Regions from separate parts of the Homo sapiens genome. Here region 1 is linked to region 2. The links are contacts of gene promoters, found by promoter capture Hi-C in blood cells and fetal thymus (Javierre and others, 2016). All regions are on one chromosome and are shown on one strand. The core of a region is centred on a gene start or on the middle of the fragment in contact, and the rest is flanking DNA. Distances in the headings are between cores, read along the strand shown. Region 1 holds the start of RAB1A (RAB1A, member RAS oncogene family). Region 2 holds the start of VPS54 (VPS54 subunit of GARP complex).

Evidence for each region. Contacts are between HindIII fragments. The CHiCAGO score rates a contact against its expected background, and 5 or more counts as called.
Region 1: the fragment with the promoter of RAB1A here is called in contact with the fragment with the promoter of VPS54 in region 2 in 6 of 17 cell types (non-activated CD4 T cells, total B cells, total CD4 T cells and 3 more); the score reaches 7.9 in non-activated CD4 T cells.

Annotation. Positions count from the first base shown.
Region 1 is chr2:65,125,273-65,132,778 of GRCh38, reverse strand. RAB1A (RAB1A, member RAS oncogene family) reads left to right here and starts at 2,673. Exons shown (of 6, transcript NM_004161.5): 1 at 2,673-2,886. The coding sequence starts at 2,864. RefSeq lists silencers at 2,175-2,524, 3,025-3,074 and enhancers at 2,377-2,890, 2,635-2,894, 2,891-3,405, 4,929-5,468. The HindIII fragment of the contact is 2,599 bases long and covers 1,083-3,681 here.
Region 2 is chr2:64,013,242-64,020,744 of GRCh38, reverse strand. It overlaps VPS54 (VPS54 subunit of GARP complex), which reads left to right and starts at 1,317. Exons shown (of 23, transcript NM_016516.3): 1 at 1,317-1,807. RefSeq lists a silencer at 1,194-1,903 and an enhancer at 2,064-2,133. The HindIII fragment of the contact is 5,022 bases long and covers 1-1,955 here.

The DNA.
Region 1 (7,506 bases), core at 1,424-3,923, 1.1 Mb before region 2:
CCCATGCATATGTACTTAATCAAATATGATTTTCTCCTGTTAATCTGTCTTAGGTTAATTTAGTTCATAAACTAGCCAAGGAACCTAGCAGGGTGGAGGGAAGTCATTTTTTTGCTCTCCTACAGAGAAAAGTAATTAACATTTACCAAGGGTCCCAAAGCCATTGTACTATATGCTTTACATTGTGTTTATTCAACGCTTACAGCTATCCTGTCACTTAGATTAAAAGCTACTAGGAGGTAATTTTTTTTTTTTTGGTGGTTGTTGTTGAGACTGAGTCTCGCTCTGTTGCCAGGCTGGAGTGCAGTGGCGCGATCTCGGCTCACTACAACCTCTGACTCCCTGGTTCAAGCCATTCTCCTGCCTCAGCCTCCCGAGTAGCTGAGATTCTGTAATCTCACGTGCCACACGCCACCACGCCCAGCTAATTTTTGTATTTTTAGCAGAGACGGGGTTTCACCATGTTGGCCAGGATGGTCTCGATCTCCTGACCTCATAATCTGCCCGCCTTGGCCTCCCAAAGTGTTGGGATTACAGGCGTGAGCCACTGCGCCTGGCAGGGGGTAATTCTTTGTTGGGAAAGAAAATAGTTAATTAAAGGAAGTTTGGGAGTATACTTCCCAGGGGAGGACAGATTGTATTTTTGGCTGAGGACGAGTTCTGGACAGTTTTCTGAGGGTTTTTTGGGGGTGTGTGTGTGTGTGTGTGTGTGTGTGTGCCTTTACTAGTGACTCAGGTCACAGTTTTCTGAGATTTTTTTTCTCCCCTCAAGACAGAATCTTGCTCTGTCGCCCAGGCTGGAGTGCAGTGGCCTCTCGGCCCACTGTAGCCTCCGCCTCCCGGGTTCAAGCAATTTTCCTGCCTCAGCCTCCCGAGTAGCTGGGATTACAGGCACGCGCCACCATGCCTGGCTAATTTTTGTATTTTTAGTAGAGACAGTGTTTCACCATGTTGGCCAGGCTGGTCTTGAATTCCTGACCTCGTGATCTGTCCGTTTTGGCCTCTCAAATTCCTGAGATTACAGGCATGAGCCACCGAGCCTGGCCAGTTTTCTGAGTTTTTATTTGAAATCAAAATAAGCTTTTTTTTTTTTTAATGGGCTTTAGAGTCCAGGGTAACGAACACTTTTTGGTGCCTATTACTGAACCATTCAGGGTATTCCTGGGGTGGTGACCGTGTTCATTTCAGAAACCAACATGTTCATTTCAGAAACCAAACTCGGGTAACTTTTGATAAGTTCATCAACTAAGGCCCATGGCAGAATTTGAGGGCTAAGGGGTGTAATTAGTGTATGGGTAGAAATAAGTGCCTTCTTTCTATATTTTGGCGTTGTAGGAATTTAAAGTGATTCTGCAGTAAGTCTCAGGAGACAATTTTCTTAGTTCTTAGAAGTTGGAAGATAAACTTTGGACAATGTATTACACTATGCCCTTTGTAATTAAATAACTCAAGATAATGTGTTAAAGTTTAGCGGAGATTTAAATTCCTGAGCTGATTAAAGAGAGCTGTTAAGGCCATAGGTTTTTTAAAAATGAGTTAATATTACTCCCAGAAATTGTAGGCACTATATAGTGATGAATTGCCTATTTTTATTGCTTATTATTTTCCAGTCTTGCAGAATGGCTCAGGGTTAGTAGCAACTAAAAGATAATACATTACAATTCAACCTGAAGGCCGGGACGAAGGTAGGAATTGGATTTTAGGCTGGCTCTGGGCTGTGTCCCTCCCATCCATGGGATGTGGAGCCATTGAAGGTTGTGGGGTCACGATGCAGGTGCTGTCTCAGAAAGATACATCCGACTGTGTGTGCAAATGGGCTGGGGCGGAGAGGAGAGAGAGAGGTAGAGTCCATTTGGAGACTACTGCAATAGCCAGGCTGACGAGTTAAGAGCGGGGCACAGTAAGAATGGGAAGAAATCTAAGAAGAAAATGGTAGTGCGCGGGGCCAACAATGGACGATGACCGAACCCAGGTGGGGATGGGTGAGTGACGAGAAGAACCGCTCCGTGCCGTCCAGGGAGCCCCTTGACTTCCCTTCTGTTCTTAGAGCGGACGTCCTCCTACCAGCCCCCAACCAGCGCCACCAGGGTGGCGCAAGCCTCAAGCTGGTCAGGTCAGCAACAGCCGCAACGGAGGCAGGAGCCGACACGCTCGTACCCCGGCCCCCTCCCCGCCCCCGCACCCCCGGCAGTCCCTCCGGTTTGACCACTCCCCCCGGTCCCTTGCCTCCCCCGACCCCCAGCCTCCGTCGGCCGCCGGCACCACCCTCCGCCCCTCTCCGCCCCCTCCCCCGTGGGGCGCTGACTCGCCCGGCTGCCACGTCTCACTGATGACATCACTAGGGCAGCTCGGCCTTAGCCAATCCGCCAGGGGGAGTCCGAGCGAAGTCCTAGCCAGCGAGTCAGAGGGGAGGGGAGCAGGGAGGGGCCGAGGGTGGGGAGGTGAGGGAGTGGGGAATGGGGCGGGCGACAACCCTTCAGGTACGCATGCCCCAGAGGCGCGGCGCTTGGCGGGAAGCTGAGTCCTGGCCTTGCGTCGCACTGTCTGTCCTCAGCTCGCGTAGCCGCGCTCGCGACTCCCTTTCCCGGCATGCCAGGCGGTGCGGCCGCCCTCTGGGCCGTGTAAAGGCCCCTCGGTCTAAGGCTTCCCTATTTCCTGGTTCGCCGGCGGCCATTTTGGGTGGAAGCGATAGCTGAGTGGCGGCGGCTGCTGATTGTGTTCTAGGGGACGGAGTAGGGGAAGACGTTTGCTCTCCCGGAACAGCCTATCTCATTCCTTTCTTTCGATTACCCGTGGCGCGGAGAGTCAGGGCGGCGGCTGCGGCAGCAAGGGCGGCGGTGGCGGCGGCGGCAGCTGCAGTGACATGTCCAGCATGAATCCCGAATAGTGAGTTCAGGAGAGCACCGGTCGGCTGGGTCCGTGGGCCAGCTTGGGGGATCTTAAAGGGGTCGAGGAGGGTTGGGGCAGAAGTCGGGGCATCGGCTGGGGTGAGGCGAGGGTGATGGGTCAGGAGAGGCTGGCGGCCGGGAGTCGGGCCCCATTGTCTGACGCGGAGGGGCGGCCGCGCGGGGGAGGGGTCGGGCCGGAGGGGTGAGCCGCCCGGGCCTGGACCGGGTCAGGTTAGAGGGCCTGACTGCGGGGCGGGTGCTGAGGAAGCCTGCCGAGGGGCCTGGGGCGGTGTGAAGGGGTATCTTCTCTCGGAGGCAGTGACTTTTGAAGGAGGACTTGTCTCTAAGGGGAGGGGATGGGGTGGGAGAGCCCTTCTAGAGGGCACTGTCAGACCCTGCGCCCGCACTCTGCGGAGCTGTCAGGATCTTCGGGGTAGAAACCAGCTTTACTTGTAAATCCTGAGCTTGTTGGCTCTCTCTCCTTCCATCCTCCCCGCCAGGTTTCAGGTAATATGGATGCTTTTCGGGACTGCGTGGGATTGAGGGGAATGAGTAGATGGTGAGAAGCAACTGAACATTTATTAGTTCTCTTTTTGAGTTGTGTCTTGGAGGAGTTGTTTAAGAGCTCGCCGGGTCCATTGCCCTCCTATAAAAACCTGGGCATTTGTGAGAATTTTGTTTTTTTTTTTTTTAAAGAGGACACCTAAGTCATTTTGTCTTCTGTGGGTCAAGGGAAAAAAAAAAAACTAAAGCCAAGAAATGTCTTTTTGATACTCGCAGATTAAAGGAAGCTTGCTGTCAAGTTGAAAGAGAAACGAACGGGACCTATGATAGATCTGTATGTAGGTTTTGGATTACCTGCTTGGATGCTTGCAGATAGGGAATGAGGTTCCATGACGTGTCATGAAAAGTTAATGCATTTCTTTTTCTTGCTTACTCAAGAAGTCACCACAGCAGATGTGACACACCTGGCACCTTTCCTGGGAACTGGTGTTCACTTCCCTTGGGTAGAGTTTGTTGGGCTCTCCTCAATGGCCCTTTAAAAATTTCCTCTACAGTTTACATGCATGTAAAGTAATGAATAATTGGAAGAGACCGAATTGGTATTCCTTTTCAGTGTCAAAGGCCTTTGAGGGATGGGGGAACATCAGTATTTGTTGTAAAAGTTGAGTTTATTTGCTGGTTTGGTCAATTACTGCTAGACATTTTCCCCTAAAAGGTCCACCCACCAGTTTAGCTGACTGTCATATGTGTGTCACATGGCTCTTGCAAAATGCTTACAAGTTTTGTAATAGTGTGGCTTGAAGCTGAAATCTTTTGCACTAAACAGAAACCGTAGTATTTTATTAGAATTTCATGTTTTAGAAGTTGAGGGTAGTGTTCTTGTAGTGACATTTGCTGTGTTGACAGTTTAAAAAAAATTTTTTTTCAAGGGCTCCAAGGACAAAGTTGGTTTTGCACAGTTGAACGGAGGTGAACTTGAGGTTCTTAATTTAGTAGTTTTCTTGGTAACAATAAAGAACATGGATTTACTGCTTTATCGAGGTTTATAGACCTCTACTGTTCAGGAAATTTTCTGAATTTGCTATATATATGTTTATTAGTGTAAATAAATCTTCAAGATTAGTTGAGAACTTTGACAAGTTACTCAGCCTCTGAATTTTTTTTCCCTTTTGTAAAATAGGATAATTGGAGTCATTATTCCTGTCAGGGTAGTGGTGAAATTCAAATGTATATAAAAGAATTTGAAAAACCGTGTGAGCATTCTTCAGGTGGTATGCATCATTTTCATGAAAGGCATTCTATTAGTACCAGGATTTAGGAATATAATCCTTGCGCTTAAGAAGTTTAGATATAGGCCAGGCGCGGTGGCTCACCTCAGTAATCCCAGCACTTTGGGAGGCCGAGGCGGGCGGATCCCGAGGTCAGGAGATCGAGACCATCCTCGGTAACACGGTGAAACCCCGTCTCTACTAAAAATGCAAAAAAATTAGCCGGGCGTGGTGGTGGGCACCTGTAGTCCCAGCTACTCGAGAGGCTGAGGCAGGAGAATGGCGTGATCCCGGGAGGTGGAGCTTGCAGTGAACCAAGATCTGGCCACTGCACTCCAGCCTGGACGACAGAGCAAGACTCCGTCTCAAAAAAAAAATTATTTATTGTTTTGAGACGGAGTTTCAATCTTGTTGCCCAGGCTGGAGTGCAATGGCGCAAATCTCCTCTCACCGCCACCTCCGCCTCCTGGGTTCAAGTGATTCTCCTGCCTCAGATTCCCGAGAAGTTGGGATTACAGGCATGTGCCACCACTCCCGGCTAATTTTGTATTTTTGGTAGAGACGGGGTTTCTCCATGTTGGTCAGGCTGGTCTCAAACTCCCGAAGTGATCCGCCCGCCTCAGCTTCCCAAAGTGTTGGGATTACAGGCGTGAGCCACCGCGCCCGGCAGAAATAGATTTTATACATGTCAAATACCAGTAGATATAGCAAATTCCAGATGTGTGGCATGGATGAGAGCAACAAGATTTCAGGGGGATGGTGGGTTGTGGTTGGCTATCTGGGTTTTGGAAGACTTTATAGAAGAGAGACCTGAAAGGGATTTATCAGCAATTAGATTTGGAGGAACAGAGGGAGTGACTAGGAATTTTCAAGGGGGAGAAGAAGGAGGAATGGCTCATAAATGACAAGGACAGTAATTAATAAGTAAATACGGTGTCAAATCATCCTTTCTTTTGAAGACTAATGACCTCAAAGGGATCAAACCCAGAAACAGTTTTTATATTTTTTCTGGGATCAAATACATGGGTATCTGGCCTACTATATTTGTATTCTAGACTGTTTAGTAAAATAATACAGGAATTTGAGAAAACCTTTGCAAAAGTGTTAGTGAAAATTACTTAGGGTGAGAGGAAGTGAGGGATATTTTATTAGGGGAGGTCACAAGGGCAGTGAGCAATCAGATTTTTAGTAATCTGACTTAAGCAGTTTCTTTTTGTTTTAATGAAGCTTGTTATCTTTATAAAAGTAATTAGAGAAAATTTGGAAAATAAAGGAAAGAAAGAAAAGTTCTTTAGTGTTTTATCACGCAAATACAAGCTCATTCGTTTTTAACATCTTGTTCCAAACTCCAAAGTCTTGCTTTCTCTTCAATTAAAACTTTAATGGGTGGATGCTTTTCCTGCTTCCAGTATGTTATCTTAATAACTAACAATGGTATATTAGCTAATGTTTACAAATGTACTCCAGATGTTCCTTAAGTTACTTTGGTTTATCATTACCAATTTATATTGTTTCTTTTAGAAATTTATAATCTTTGTTAATGGGTTCTGCTAAATTTGGTAGTGAAAATGGGATCTTGAGAAAAAAGATTCTGAAGCAACAGAATTTTTAGATTTATATTGGTTTACATAAGAGTTGGTAGCTGTATTACTTTTTTTGTTTGTTTTGTTTTTTTTTTGAGACGGAATCTTGCTCTGTCGCCCGGGCCTTGGCCTCCCAAAGTGTTGGGATTACAGGCGTGAGCCACTGTGCCTGGCTGTTTGTGTTTTTTTTTGTTTTTGTTTTCTTTTCTTTTTCTTTTTTTCGAGATGGAGTCTCACTCTGTCACCCAGGCTGGAGTGCAGTGGCGCGATCTTGGCTCACTGCAATCTCTGCCTCCTGGGTTCAAGCGATTTTCCTGCCTTGGTCTCCTGAGTAGCTGGGATTACAGGCATTTGCCACCATAACCAGCTAATTTTTGTATAGAGTACCCAGCCATCTCTAATGTTGATCAGGCTGAAGCAGGTGGATCACCTAAGGTCAGGAGTTCAAGACCAGCCTGGCCAATATGGCAAAACCCTATCTCTACTAATACAGAAAATTATCTGGGTGTGTTGGCTGGCGCCTGTAATCCCAGCTACTCGGGAGGCTGAGGCAGGACAATCTCTTGAACCTCGGAGGTGGAGGTTGCAGTGAGCCGAGATCACACCATTGCACTCCAGCCTGGGCAACAGAGCAAGACTTGTCTCAAAAAAAAAAAAAAAAAAAAAAAAAAGGCAATTGAAAGTGTAATCTGAACAGTTAAAAAAGTAGATAGAAAGGGTTAAAGCTTTTTTTTGAGGATCTGAAGAAAAATGTGGATTTTTTTTGAGCTACGTTTTGAAGCAGGCAGTGATTATTTCAGCACATTAAGAAATGCTTAACATGGCCAGGCGCAGTGGCTCACGCCTGTAATCTCAGCACTTTGGGAGGCCGAGGTGGGCGGATCATTTGAGGTCATGACCAGCCTGGCCAACATGATGAGACACTGCCTCTACTAAAAATACAAAAATTAGCTGGGTGTGGTGGTGCACGCCTGTAATTCCAGCTACTCAGGAACCTGAGGCAGGAGAGTCACTTGAACCTGGGAGGCGGAGGCTGCAGTGAGTCCAGATCATGCCACTGCACTCCAGCCTGAGGGACAGAGTGAGACTCCTCAAAAAAAAAAAAAAAAAAAGAAAGAAATACTTAACATTATTCTCGTGATTATTCTCATAACATTTTTCATAATCCACTGGCTTCCAGTGGATTTTTTTAGTGTCAAGAAAATAATTTTGATTGGTTCATCTTTAAGGAATGTGTTAAGAATAAAGCATGTCTACCTGTCT
Region 2 (7,503 bases), core at 68-2,567:
TCCTACCTGAAACTTTATACCCTTTGACTCACATTTCCCCTTTCCTCATCACCCTTTACCCCCCAGTCTTTGGTAACCACCATTCTACTCTGCTTCTATGTAAACTCATCTGGTTTTATAAGTGATCAGGGATTTAAGAGGACTTCACTCTTTTACAGTTAAATTTATTTCATATTGGGGAATGATTTTCTCACTTTGTTTCTTACATAATTTTAGAGGATTGAACTTAGAAAAATATAATGTAAGAGTTTTCTCTCAACTATTTTTGATGCTTCCTTACTTTTTGTCCTCTTTCCCCAACTTTAGCTCTTTGGTGGGGAAAATATTATTTCATAAAAGTTATGTTTGCAGTTTTCAAAGTGACTTCTTAGAAGTGAAACTTGGATCAACATTTTTTTCAACCCCCCAACTATAAGAGTTACATTTTCACTTTTGATTTGTTAAAACATACTATGTCTTATAAATGCTTGAAATTTATTTTTAGGCAAGAATTTCAACATTGAATAAAATCTTCCCAAAATTAAGTCACAAGCACTCAAAGGATTGAGGATCTTTTTCTTCCTAAAATATATGTGTGTGTGTGTGTGTGTGTGTGTCTTTATATTTATATACTAAGACCTTCCCTTTCTTGTGGACTGTGTTTTATTGGTTTAAAGTTGCAAGTCCTGTGAAACCAGGCTGAAGTCAGAATTAGAAGGTATTAATTATCATACACACTCCAAGTATCTCAGTCAAGTAACAGGAATAACTGATTACAGTGTCTGGGAGGAAGGCCTGGAACTTGGGGAAGACTTGGAGGGGAGGACTGGATGGGGAAAAGGCCTCAATAGAGAGAACTGGGTTGTTGCGGAGGGGTGACCTTTAACCTTTGGAAGGGCATTTACTAGGGAACAGCTGAAAAGCATTTACTTCGAGGGGGTGGGGGAGAGGAGGAATCTCGTGGAAGTATTTGCTTTAATAGGTCCCGGGTGATTTAGGGATGTTTCGAGTCGGTTGGTCTTGGGGGTGGCGAGGGCTACGCTGGAGGGGTCGCGTCCCAGTCCCGGGGAAGGCGGCAGGAGGTTTTCTGGGTGTTCCTGAAAACTGGGAGTTGGGGGGAAGGGTGGTGGGGAAAGTGGAATTCAGCGTGGATTTGTCTGCGTGTAGGACTATTAGAGGAGGCGCAGGGGAGCCACGCGGTGTATTCCCCGCCCCGAGAGAACTCTGGCTGCGCCTGCGACGGGCACGCCGGCCTGCGCCAAGGCCGCTTTCCCCAGGCGGCGGGCGCTCCCCCCGGCCCGGGCCGCGGCCCTCCCGCCCCGGCGGAGCCGCGCGGTGGATTGTGGGCTGGGGGCTGCGGCGGCCTCCGGCGCTGTCTCCCCGCACCCGACCGGGCCGAGCCGGCTGGGCCGGCGGGGTGAGGGAAAGCAGTGGAGTCGGGAGCAGAAGCGCTAGAGGCAGTGGTCGTGGCGCGGCGGCGGCGGCTCCCCTGGAGGCCGGGGATGTGGGAGAGGCGGTGGCAGCAGCGGCGGAGGCGGCGCTGCGGACCCGGGGGAAACTGCTGGCTGACAGGACACCCGGGAGAGACGTGAGGGAGCCGCCGCTGCCACCTCTCACCCCTGAGTGAAGCTGGGCTCGAGAGGGCGGCCCTGTGCTCCCCGGGCCGACTGGCCAGCGGGCGCGGGGCGGGGGCGGGAACCCGGGCTCGGGCCCGGCCGGGCGCCGGGCGGCGGCGGCCGTGGAGCAGCAGCCTCGGTGCGACGTGGAGGGCTGGAGGCGGCGGCGATGCACTAGGCCTCGCTCAGGGCGGCTGCCCCGGGACCCGCAGGTAGGTGTGCCCCGCGGCCCCCCGCGCGTCTCAGCCCACTCTCACCCCGACCTACAGCGGAGAGAGGGACCGAGACCCCACCCCCTCGGCTCTCCTCCCCAGCCCCAAACGGACCGAGTTTCGGTCACAGCTGACCGGCACTGAAGCTTCCATGCTCCTCTCCGCCACTTCCTTTTTTTTTTTTTTTTTTCCTTTTCACTCTCCCTCCGGGATCGGGGCTGGCAGCTGTGTTCCCTGCCTCCTGTCAGCGACCGCAAACGCCGCTCTTGCCCCTCTCTTATCTTTCCGGGATCCCAGCTCTGGAACTTCCATCACCCCCTTAGACGCTGCCCCCAAACTTTCCTTTTCTTTTTCCAGCCAGGCCCTTAGTCCTATTGGATTCTACTGGAATCGTTAAAACATTTGTTTGTTTTTCTCTCCGGGGAAGGCTAACCCAAAGAGTTACTCAGTATTTTGCATTTTGGCAATGTAGCTTGAAATAATTTGTGCAATAATTTTCTTCAGTTCTGCCTCCTTCCATCTCTGCATAGACAGAAAGGGCAGGCCCTCTCTGCCGTTTCTGCTCTCCCGTCGTTGACTTGGGAACTTTGGCTTGCCAATTATAATTAGCCGTTTGGTCTGTTCATGTGTTGAGTTCAAGATGGTATTTTTAGCATTTTGACTGACAGGCGTTTCAAAAAAAAATTTTTTTCTTCTAACCAGCTTTATTTTTTGGTCTTTATTGAGGCTCTTTCGAAGAATTAAATTGTTTGGACTGTTTTTGTTTTTAATTGGCTGTATTTCTGATTTGTCAAATCAAGGGCGGTCTTAATACTAAACGCCTTTAAGTAATACCGTGATAAATTACTTGTAGTATACCGAGAAATATTACTGCGATAACCTAAACTGCAGATTTTGATGTACATTCACTTTTATAAATCCGAAGGGGAGTTCTAATTGGAAAAAGCACCTTCAGAGCCTAAATGATTTCTAAGCAGTTAAATGATGGAACAGAGGGAATGATGGGATTTGTTTGACTGTATTTGTAGTGTAGTCAGAATCGGATTTCCTAGAAATGGATGTTGATGGTTCGTAGTGCTCATCATTGCTTATGATAGGTTACCAGTAGCTGTAATTGATAGTTGTTTGGGACGACAGTAGATGTTTGCGATTTTATTGTAATTTGGCTATTTTTAAATTATGTTCTGATAACTTAAGAATTATTACACTACCAATCTAAGAGGCAGTCTGAGGATCACTTTTTTAAATAAATGAAAAATGTTTTAATGGGTTTTTAAAATAAAGAATGCATCACAACCAAATCGTAAAGACTGTTTTGTTGTTGATATTCGTATATTTTGTTCTTGTAGAAGTATTGTTACTACAGCATTTGGCTTTCTGAAGTGTTTTTGAAATTAGAATTTAATACTAAAAGTTTACTAGGAAAAGGTGATTACTTTTGCATATGCTTATATTTTCTGGAAAGTTAAAATTGATTTCTGGATAAGATAATTTTTTGTGTCAGAATTAAAGTCAATTCCTATATAGCCCATGAAACGGCAAATTTTGCAGAATTTCTTCATCACACTCTTTTTTTTTGTTTCTTTTCTTTTTTTTTTTTTGAGACGGGGTCTTGCTCTGTTGCCCAGGCTGGAGTGCAGTGGCGCTATCTTGGCTCACCGCAACCTCCGCCTACCGGCTTCAAGTGATTCTTCTGCCTCAGTCTCCTGAGTAGCTGGGACTACAGGCGCCCCCACGCCTGGCTGATTTTTGTATTTTTAGTAGAGACGGGGGTTTCACCATATTAGCCAGGCTGGTCTTGAACTCCTGACCTTGTGATCCACCGGCCTCGGCCTCCCAGAGTGCTGGGATTAGAGGTGTGAGCCACCGCCCCGGCCCCGGCCCATCACACTCTTTTTTTTTTTTTTTTTTTTTTTAATCAACAAAAGTTAATTACAATTCCTCTTTCCTGCTCTTTGCTTTTTAAAAACTGCTTTATTGAGATAAAATTAACATACCATAAAATACACCCATTTAAGGTGTACCACTTGGCCGGGTTCAGTGGCTCACACCTGTAATCCCACCACTTTGGGAAGCCTAGTCAGGTAGATCACCTGAGGTCCAGAGTTCGAGACCAGCCTAGCCAACATGGTGAAACCCCGTCTGTACTAAAAATATATAAATTAGCCGGGCATGGGGGTGAGCGCCTGTCATCCCAGCTACTGGGGAGGCTGAGGCTGGCGAATCGCTTGAACCTGGGAGGTGGAGGTTGCAGTGAGCCAAGATAGCACCACTGCACTACAGGCTGGGTGACAGAACGAGACTCCATCTCAAAAAAAAAAAAAAAATATACAATTCAGTGGTTTTTAGATTAAATAATTGTGCAACCATCACCATAATCTAATTTTAGAACATTTTCATCATTCCCTCAAAAAACCTTTATCCATTAACAGTTACTCCCCATTCTCTTCACCCCACCCCCAGCTTTAGGCAACCACTAGTCTACTTTCTGTCTCAATATTGGCCTAATGTGGGCCTTTCATATAATGCTTCTTGGCTCATAGCTTCTTGAAAAGCTTTTCCTTTAAAATCAGTGTACATGTTAAAATTTTTTATTTGAGCTAGGGAATAAGCAACTGATCACCAATATTAAAAGTGATGTTGTAAATAACTGATACACTTTTTGGTTGTATTCAGCATAAAGTTGGAGAAGGCATGAATGGCTTCAGTAACCTCAAGAGGTAGTTTGGTCAGCTCGGAATCAATAAGTAAAAGTGGGCATTTTTGTCATTGAATATTAGAATATCAGGGAAAAGATCTTAAAGGTCATCAGCTTACTTCCTGCTTACCTCGCTATTAGTTGGCAGCAACCAGATGAGGAAACATGGAGATTAGAAGCTTGAATCTCTAGGATGTGTGGCTCAAGAACCACAGCGTGGCCATGTAAAGCAAGAAATGGGACTTTGGAAGTTAGAATTGTTTAGATTCTTGTATATATGTATGTATTTGACATTTTGCTAGCAGAGCTGAGAAAGAACTGGACATTCCCCCAACTTTGGGGGAAAAGTGGGTGACTATATGTAGCTACATTGATGAAACCCATGTTACAAAATCCTCTAAAAATGCTTTAACCTAAGGAAGGGTAGCAAATGTATTATTTAGATATCTTCTTATACTATTAATGTCTTATTTTTTTAAATCCAAATTTTAAAAAAATATAATTAACAGGGCCAGTTGGAGGTTTCCTTTTTCAAATATCCAGTGCCCTAACATCTAAAACAATGGCTCTGCGAGGACGGTTTTGACTCCAAGGGAAATTTGGCAGTGTCTAGAGACATTTTTGGTTGTCATAGCTGAAGGAAATGGTATTGGCCAAGGATGTTGCTAAATACCCTACAATGCACAGGACATACTTCTGCAAGAAATTATCCGGTTCAAAATGTCAATGGTACCATTGTAAACCTAGGGGCTGCACGATTTCTGGTAAGGACCTAGTGTTTTTGATTCCTACCAGGTGGGAGAATAGTCTCAGTGGGCGATGTTTGGTGAATTAGATTAACACCTTAGATCCTCTAGCAACTAACTCTATTTCTTTGCAAGAGGAGGAATTGAGGGAAAAATAAAAGGAAATCTGTTTACGACATGACGCAGATACTGTTTCGTATGTTTAGGTTGTCTTCAAATCTGAAAAAAGAACCCCTTTTTTTCTAAAAACAGACTTAATTTACTGCAAATTTGGACTACTATTGTTTTGAATTGTTATTTTTGCATATGTTTTTGAAATTGTAAATAGAATATAGTCATATCTTTTTTATCCAGAAGTGATTTTTTTTTTTCCTGGCAGCTTCAACTACCAAGAAAGGAGAAGTAAGCTAAGTGTTTAACTTTATGGATAACACTTATGTTATATATGTATGTATAACACTTATGTTATGTATGTATGTATGTATGTTGTGAATGTCCAGAAAAATTCCAAGCTTATAATGAATCTTTTTTTCCCCTATGAGCTCCACTTTAGACTATTTAATGTTTTTAACAAGCTTAATTTGTTGATGAAAGAAGGTAATTGACAGTTGAGATCACTTTTGCTATTTATCATCCATACCTTATGGATAAGTTACTCAAGTTATTCTTTCTGAGCCTCAGTTTTCTCATCTATAAAATAGGGGTAGTGATAATCCATGTATTACAAGGCTATTGTAAGAATTATTAAATGAGGTAATATGTATTAAGATGCAGTGTCAACTATAATATACTGTAGAAGAGTTATTCGCTTCAGAAGAATCAAATTAGGAAGGAATATAGAGGTTGTCAAAGGCAGGAATGTAGATAGTAAGGCGGAGAATAGTGATGGCTGACAGCCTCTCTAGGGAGGAGAGAAGCACTAAATACAAATATTGATAACAAACTAGTAAAATAACTAGTATATCACTATAATCTGAAACTCCTTAATATAGGGGCAAACTGACTTCCTTCTGTAGCACCTGAGAGTATCACCGTTATAGCACAGTAAAATAACTGATTATTATAATGGTGAAATTAACTTATTAAGAAAAGATTACCTTGTTTTCAAATATGCTATTTGAGAAGACTTGAAAATATATATATTTTACTTCAGAGTTAAAATTTTTGGAAGTGACTTATTCAAAAAGTTTTAGTGTTTTTAAGAGTATGCTGTCGTTATTTGGATTAATTCCCTTTTGGGGAATAATCCTTTTGTCTTCATTTACTATGCCTGCCTTCCTGTGTATTTGAAGGGTTTTTCTATTATCTGAAGGTAATTATTCTTCAGATGTGAGAATTTAACTGAAGAAATAGGGGTTGTAAGCCTGCTCACCATTTGTAAAATCTCATTTCCTTCTAGATTTCTTTTAAAATTATTTTTCATCTTTCTGGCGTGTCACTACGCCCAGCAAATTTTTGTATTTTAAGTGGAGACAGGGTTTCGCCATGTTGGTCAGACTGGTCTCGAACTCCTGACCTTGTGATCTACCTGCCTCGGCCTTCCAAAGTGTTGGGATTACAGGTGTGAGCCACCGCGCCTGGCTGGTTTCTTAAAATTTTGTTAACTGGTCACCTTTCTTTCAGAATCATATAAAAATAAGGGTAGAGGTGGTCAAAGGCCCAGCTATTCAGTAAGATTTTTATGGGGTAATTTGAGGGTGGAATAGTTGCAGACAATATTCAGAATAAGTAATGTGGTATTGATTGGTATTATATATGATATATATATATCTCTCTATATGATATATATATCTCTATATATGTGATATATATCAATATATAGATATATATATCAATATATATCTATATATTGATATATATTTATATATAAATGCTGATATATATCATATGATATATATTGATATATATTTATATATAAATGCTGATATATATATCATATATATATATCAGCATTTACTTAATAACATTATTTGATGTATACTCTATACTTAAATCTTCCCATTTGTCCCAAAAATCTTTATAGCTTTTTCCCCCCTCAAATGCAGGATTCATTCAAGGTTAATGCATTGCATTTGGCTGGTATGTCTCTTTAAGTCTCCCCCAATCTGGACTAGTCCTACCGCCTTCCTCTCTTCTTTAGGTTTATCCATTGAGAAGTAGAGACCATATGTCCTGGAGCATGTTCCACATTCTGAATTGGTCTGTTCCTCATGATTAGATTCTAGTCAGACATTTCTGGTGAGACCATCACA